2 separate regions of the Homo sapiens genome follow, and region 1 is linked to region 2. Evidence: promoter capture Hi-C in 16 types of primary human blood cells and fetal thymus (Javierre and others, 2016). All regions are on one chromosome and are shown on one strand. Each heading gives the region's core, a stretch centred on a gene start or on the middle of the fragment in contact. The rest is flanking DNA. Distances are from core to core; before and after follow the strand shown.

Region 1 (3,585 bases), core at 4-2,503, 260 kb before region 2:
CCCCGTCTCTACTAAAAATACAAAAAATTAGCCGGGCGTGGTGGCGGGCGCCTGTAGTCCCAGCTATGCGGGAGGCTCAGGCAGGAGAATGGCGGGAACCTGGGAGGCGGAGCCTGCAGTGGGCCGAGATCGCGCCACCGCACTCCAACCTGGGCGACAGCGAGACTCCGTCTCAGAAAAAAAAAACAACAACACTTTTTTCTTTTTTTGAGACAGTCTGGCTCTGTCACCCAGGCTGGAGTGCGGTGGTACCATCATGGCTCACTGCAGCCTCAGTCTCTCAGCCTCCTAGGTTCAATCGATCCTCCCACCTCAGCCTCTTGAGTAGCTGGGACTACAGGCACACACTACCATATCCGACTAACTTTTGTATTTTTTTGTAGAAACAGGGGTTGGCCATATTGCCCAGGCTGGTGTGGAACGCCTGACCTCAGGTGATCCACCTACCCCGGCCTCTCAAACTGTTGGGATTACAGGCGTGAGCCGCCGTGCCCAGCTGTTTCTTCTTTCAGTTAATAAAAGAGAGGGTGCATTGCTGGCTAATGAGATTGTTTCTATACTTGGGGGTCTTCCTGAATGTGTGTGATTGAGTTTATTGCAGAGAAAGGTAACAGAAAATGGGGTTGTAGAAAGAAAAGAGGTAGAGGCTGAGTGAGATGCCCCACATCTGTAATCTCAGTGCTTTGGGAGGCCAAGGCGGGCGGATCACTTGAGATCAGGAGCTGGAGACCAGCCTGGCCCAAATCGTGAAACCTCGTCTCTACTAAAAATACAAAAATCAGCCAGGTGTAGTGGTGTGCGCCTGTAATCCCAGCTACTCGAGAGGCTGAGGCAGGAGAATGGTTTGAACTTGGGAGGCGGAGATTGCAATGAGGTGAGATAACGCCACTGCACTCTAGCCTGGGAGACAGTGAGACTATGTCTCAAAAGAAAAAAAAAAGTTCCTGGGCCCCAGACCAGCTCTCTCTTTGGGTTAAAACCCCGGCGTCCCGGAGCTGAGGCGCACGTGGCTATGCTTGGGGAGGAGAGGGCGGGGCCGGGGAGGAGGCGCTTGCAAGTCTGTACCGCAATGCCTCTACTGGCCTCTAGAGGGCGCAATCACTCGAGGCTCCGCCCCAAGCGAGGCGGGGCGGAAGCGTGCTGTGCACAGGCGCAAGATGGGTCTTGGGCAGCCCAGAGCTTCCGATTGGCTCTTCTGTGGTGGCGGGGCGGGGTCAGAACGAGATGGCTGTGTGCGCAGGCGCAAGACTAGCGCTCTTGGGACCGGAAGTTAAGGCGTTCGCGGCGTGTGGTAAGTGAGGGGGGCGGGACGGGTGTACCGGGTTGTGGCGGCGATGGCTGTCGGAGTTGGGCCGCTTGGGGGTAGTTTGGGGTGCGAGTCCAGGGGCGAGGGAAGTCTCGAGATGAGGAGAAATGTAGGAGGCAGCCGAAGGGCCGGCAAACGCGGACAGAGATGGCACCTGAGCGTCCCTGGGAGAACCTGGGCGACAGGCCAGAGACCGAAAGAAATGGAGGCACGAAAAGAAGCTTCGAGAAACTGAGGGACTGAAAGACGAGGGTGTTGGGAGAGGAGGGAAGCTGAAAACTAGAGAGCGTGGGCGAGAGTGCCGATGGGTTCCAGCGAGAGTCTTAGAGCCCACGAGGCCGAGAGGCGTGGTCGCCCATGAACTTGGGGAGTGGAGGGAAAAGTCGGAAACTGATCGTGGACACTAGAAACAGAAAAAATGGAATTTAGATGGAGAAACGAGACACTGAATCACGGGGGAGACCGAGAGATACGGAAGGATGGAGACAGTTGAAATAGGAAGAACCCCACAAAAGCTGGAGATAATGGAGAACGATGCTGAGAAATGGAAAAGCGAGGGAGTGGAGCCCGAACCCCTGGATTTGAGTGGCTCATGTAACACTCGGCTACTCACTTAGCCTCTCTATTGCTCAGTAAAATAGGGGGTGATCATAGTGCCTGACAGTCGTGAGAAAAGTGTGTGTGTGTATGTACATAGGTGTGGGATAGGAATAGATCATGCAGATAGGATAGGTCTGTGTGTTAATGTGAGTAAGTAAGCATGAGCTATTACTAAAGCTTCTGATATTGGGAGATAAAGTATTAGATGGGGAAATGGAGAGAGGTGGTGATGGAGAGTGAATACTGGAAGGACAAAAGGGAGGAAAAAAAGATTCAAACAGAAAATGAGAAAGGGCGTGGTGACTCACTCCTGTCATCCACAGCACTTTGGGAGGCTGCGGTGGGAGGATCACTTGAGCTTGGGAGGTCGAGGCTGCTGTACGCCGTGATTGTGCCACTGCACTTCAGGCTGGGTGACAGAGTGAGACCCTGTTTCAAAAAAACAAAAATGAATTTTTTTTTTTTTTTTTTGAGATGGAGTTTCGCTCTTGTTGCCCAGGCTGGAGTGCAGTGGTGCGATCTTGGCTCACTGCAACCTCTGCCTCCTGGGTTCAAGCGAGTCTCCTGCCTCAGCCTCCAGAGTAGCTGGGATTACAGGCAGGTGCCACCACCCTGGCTAATTTTGTATTTTTAGTAGAGACGGGATTTTTCCATGTTCGTCAGGCTGGTCTCGCACTCCCGACCTCAGGTGATCTGCCTGCCTCAGCCTCCCAAAGTGCTGGGATTATAGGCGTGAGCCACCATGCCCGGCCTGAAAAAGCATTTTTTTTTTAATGAGAAAGATGGAGAAAGTCAAATGGAGAACTGAAGAGAGATGGAGAAAGGAAGAGTTGGATTACAGAGAAAAATCAGACTACAGAATGACTCATAAGTGAAGAGAGATGCGAGCTGACTAGGACAGGGAAGAGAGATGAGGGTGATGATGAACAAGACGGACTGAAAAAGAGACAGAGGCCTGAAGATGGAGTGGAGAGAGATGGAGGGGACAGAGGGGGAAACAAACCCACTGAAGGCCATGAGCCCAGGGCAAATAGGCCAAGAGACCAAAAGATGGTCAGAGACACAGTTATACAGAAACTAGAAGATGCAGACAATCTAGAAGCCAAAAAAGATAGATACCTTGAGAGGAGCGGGATGCTGTCAGTGGGGCCCAGCATGCATAAGCAGTTTCTAGCCTCAGAAGAATGCTCTCATTTTCTTTTTCTTTTTTTTTTTTTTTTTTTTTTTTTGAGACAGAGTCTCGCTCTGTTGCCCAGGCTGGAGTGCAGTGGCTCAGTCTTGGCTTCCTGCAAGCTCTGCCTCCAGGGTTCGAGTGATTCTCCTGCCTCAGCCTCCCGAGTCGCTGGGACTACCCGAGTAGCCAGGTGCCCGCCACCACACCTGGCTAATTTTTTTTCTCCAGCCTGGGTGACAGAGCAAGACTCCATCTCAAAACAAAAAAGACTCCAACTGTAAGCAAAAAGGCATTTTCTGGTGTAGCTGAGAAGTGGGGGGTTGAAGGGAACTAAGCTTCAAGACCTAAATGATGTTGCCAAGCTTCTCTTCCTCTCCCTCTTTCACCTCTCCCTGTGGTGCAGTGACCATTCTTGTGCCTGTATCTAGTTATTTCTCTAGGATAGATTTTAGGAAAGACTCTGTCATGTTCCAGAGCTACCACAAAGAGCTCCAGGCTTATATCA
Region 2 (3,838 bases), core at 1,161-3,660:
AATGTTTACCTCCCACTTATAAGTGAGAAGATGAGGTATTTGGTTATCTGTTCCTGTGTCAGTTTGCTTAGGATAATGACCTCCAGCTGCATCTGTGTTGCTGCAAAGGACATTATTTCATTATTTATTTATTTATTTATTTTTGAGACAGAGTCTTGCTCTGTTGCCCAGCCTGGAGTGCAACGGCGCTATCTCGGCTCACTGCAACCTCCGCCTCCCAGGCTCAAGTAATTCCCTTGCCTCAGCCTCCCGAGTAGCTGGGACTACAGGTGCCTGCCACCACACCCAAATAATTTTTGTATTTTCAGTAGAGATGGGGTTTCCCTTTGCTGGCCAGGCTGGTCTCCAACTCCTGACCTCAAGTGATCCACCTGCCTCGGCCTCCCAAAGTGCTGGAATTACAGGTGTGAGCCACCGCACCAGGCTTCATTCTTTTTTATGACTGCATAGTATTCCATGGTGTACATTTATCACATTTTCTTTATCCAATCCACTGTTGGTGGGCACCTGAGTTGATTCCATGTCTTTGCTATTGTAAATAGCATTGCGGTGAACACCACTGTACTAAGTTATAGATCTATCATGCTTTTATGTTTGGGACATTGCATAAGGTATTCACTTGTGGAACTGATAACTTCCTGTTTACTTACTAATGATAACGGCCAGCATTTATATGGCACTTCCTCTCAGGTGCAGCTCTCCCTAGCTCATTCTTCCTCATGACCCTATGAAATGAGGCCTATTATTATCAGCATGTTAAAGATGAGGACACACAGAGGTGAGGTAATTTGTCCACTGTCACACAGCAAGAAAGTGGCAAAGGCAGGATATGAACCAGGGGCTGACTGGTTTCAGTCAGGGCCCTTACCCTCTGTGGTCTCTCAAAATTAATTTCTTCTTCTTCTTTTTTTTTTTGAGACAGGGTCTTGCTGTCTCCCAGACTGGAGTGCAGTGGCATGACTATGGGGAACTACAACCTCGACTTCCTGGACTCAAGCGATCCTCCTGCCTCAGCCTCCCAAGTAGCTGGGAGTACAAGCACACACCACCATGCTGGGCTAATTTTTGTTTGGACAGGGTCTCGCTATGTTGCCCAGGCTGGATAAATTATTATTATTATTACTATTTTTGAGACAGAGTTTCCCTCTTGTCGCCCAGGCTGGAGTGCAATGGTGTGATCTCGGCTCACTGCAACCTCTGCCTTCCGGATTCAAGCGATTCTCCTGCCTCAGCCTCCCAAGCAGCTGGGATTACAGGCGTGCACCACCACACCCAGCTAAGTTTTGTATTATTAGTAGAGAAGGGGTTTCACCATGTTGGCCAGGCTGGTCTCGAACTCCTGACCTCAGGTGATCTACCCTCCTCGGCCTCCCAAAGTGTTGGGATTACAGGTGTGAGCCACTGCGCCTGGCCGATAAATTATAAAAAAAAAAAATACGTTGAAGTAAATATTATGGGTAGTACCGCCAAGATACTAGAACACATGTTAAGGCTTAAAAAAACAGAGGCCGGGCACTTTGGGAGGCCGAGAATAGCTTGAACCCAGGGGACGGAGGTTGCGGTGAGCCTAGATCGTGCCACTGCACTCCAGCCTGGGCGAAAGAGCGAAACTCCGTCTCAAAACAAAACAAAATATAACACAACAACAACAAAATCACAATCTGTCTCGATTACTCATTTATTCAACCCGCATTCACCTACTGTGTGCACGAGCTTTTCTAGGGCACTGGGGAGGCAGAAGGGACTAAAACAAAGTATAAATCTCCCTGGGCTGCAAGCATCGGGAGGGCAGGTCCGGGGGCTCTGTGTCCCCACTGGGCCCCCAGCACTGCGCAGCGCACACAGTGGGCGCTCACCAAGCGCTCGCTAAGGGCAACGCGTGAATCCGTGTCCCGCCAGCAGGGCGTTTACGGCCTGGTGGGGCGGAAACGGACCCGACACCACCGCGGCGTCCTGGGGCTTCTGGGAATCCCATCAGCGCGGCCAGAGCGGCCGGGGACAGGCTCCGAGGCAGGCCCGACCCGCCTCCCCGGCGCCGCCGTGGCTCGACGGAGACCAGCTAGGGTGAGTGATCGAGCCACGCCTGGGGTCCCGGCCTGTCACCCCGAAGTCCCCGCCGCCTTCCACCCTGTCAGGCTCCAACTCTGGGCTCCGGCGCGGTCCCACCTCCGGGGGGAACTCCCCTCCATCCCCTCCATTTCCTTCATCCTCGACTCCCGCTATCTTTTCGGACCTGCGGCGCTCCCCCTGGACGCGTCCTCCCGCCGGACGACCGTCCTCCGCCTCAGGGGACGCGCCCAGGACGCACGGCGCCCCCTCCCCAGCCGGACCGGCGGTCTGGGAGCGCGGATCCCTTCAGCTCCCCCGCGCCCCAGCATCCGGATCAGGGCTCGAGGCAGTCGACAAACTACACCCGAGCTCGAGCAGGCGCGCCCCTGAACCCCCGGGACTGGGGCTGGGGGCGGGGGCGGCGCCGGCGCGGAGGGCCCAGTCCCCGGACGTCCGCAGCCTCCCATTGGCTCCGGGTCCCGCCGCTCGGCCTGGCGGGGCCGGGGCTGGTCCGCCCGGACGCGGGGCGGGGATTCCTGAAGCCCCTCCTCCGGCGAGGGCGGAGGGAAGAGGAGGAGGAGGAGGAGGAGGAAGGGGGTGGGGGGCGGAACACAAAACCTGAGAGGTTTTTTTTTTTTTTTTTCCGTTTGCATTTAATTAAAAAAAATTTTTTTTTTTTTTGCATACCCGAGGGGCGCTCCCCGGAACGGGCGCGGGCCCGGGGCGCGCGGGCCTGGGCGCGGGGCGGCGGCGGGGGCCCGGCAGCGGCTGCCGAGCGGCCGCCATGCGATCAGGCAGTGCGCTGACCGGCCCGGCCGGCCGGCCCCTTCTGGGTCCTCCCTTTGCAGCCCGTGCGGGGCCGTCTCGGAGACCCCGCGCCGACGGCTGCTCAAACATCAGGGTGAGTTTCTCACAATGTAGCAATTTCTCTTTAAATCTCTTAACTCTCTCTACCTGCGAGTCGGGGCTGTGACAGGGCGCAAAAGCGAGGGGGGAGTGGGGGTTGGCGGCGAGGGTGTGTGTGGGGGGAGCCGGAGCCGGGGCCGAACCCACCCCCGCGACACTCTCACACTCAGCCCCCCAGCCGGGGCGCAGCGCCCGCTGCCTCCTTTTTTTTTTTTTTTTTTTTTTCCTGCTCGGCGCCCACCGCCACCGGCACCCCCAGCCCCGCGTCTCTTCCACCACCGCCGCCGCCCCGATCCTATGGGGACCCCCCCCCAACCGGCTTCCCTGCCCAGACCCGGCGCCCAGTGCCTCCCCGGCCCTCCCGCCGGCTGCCGGGGATACAATGGAGCGGCGGAGAGAGGAGACCTAACGTTCCACGGGGGGAGGGGCGCGGAGACCCCCTCCCCGTCCCGGCCCCCTCCCCTCGCCCCGCTCCCCGCCTTTCGGGGAAGGCGAAGGCCACCGGGCAGCGGGCGGTGATCTCCCGGCCGGAGGCGGAGAGCCTGCATCTCCCCGCCTCGCTCGGCCCCTGCGCCCCCTCCCCAAATCCCTCCCGTGGGTGTCGCGGACAGTGGGGGGCCCTGGAAAGCTGGGGAGGGATGGATGGGGAAGGAGGCCACCGGGGCTCCCCCCTTCGCACCGCCCCTAAACAATGAAAGGAGTTGACTTGACCCCCAGCCCCCGGCAATAGAGGGAGGTGACCCCCTCCCCCACCCCCAGCTGAGGCTCATCCCGGAGGGGGCCGTTACGGGGGTGGGGGGGGTGAGCGCCTCCTGTCACTTCCCGAGGTTCGGGGCGGCCCCCCATCTCCTACCCCTCGGCCTGGGAACGGGAGGCACCAGGC

Evidence for each region. The method cuts DNA at HindIII sites, captures the fragments that hold promoters and counts their contacts. A CHiCAGO score of 5 or more calls a contact.
Region 1: the fragment with the promoter of DHX34 here is called in contact with the fragment with the promoter of BICRA-AS2 in region 2 in 5 of 17 cell types (total B cells, erythroblasts, fetal thymus and 2 more); the score reaches 7.1 in total B cells.

What each region holds. Positions count from the first base shown.
Region 1 is chr19:47,348,062-47,351,646 of GRCh38, forward strand. It overlaps DHX34 (DExH-box helicase 34), which reads left to right and starts at 1,254. Exons shown (of 17, transcript NM_014681.6): 1 at 1,254-1,291. RefSeq lists an enhancer at 1,094-1,998. The HindIII fragment of the contact is 2,372 bases long and covers 1-1,525 here.
Region 2 is chr19:47,606,219-47,610,056 of GRCh38, forward strand. BICRA-AS2 (BICRA antisense RNA 2) reads right to left here and starts at 2,411. Exons shown (of 1, transcript NR_186352.1): 1 at 1,655-2,411. BICRA (BRD4 interacting chromatin remodeling complex associated protein) reads left to right here and starts at 2,916. Exons shown (of 15, transcript NM_001394372.1): 1 at 2,916-2,950. RefSeq lists silencers at 1,921-2,000, 2,071-2,120, 2,171-2,250, 2,311-2,690, 2,801-2,850 and 3 more. The HindIII fragment of the contact is 11,162 bases long and covers 1-3,838 here.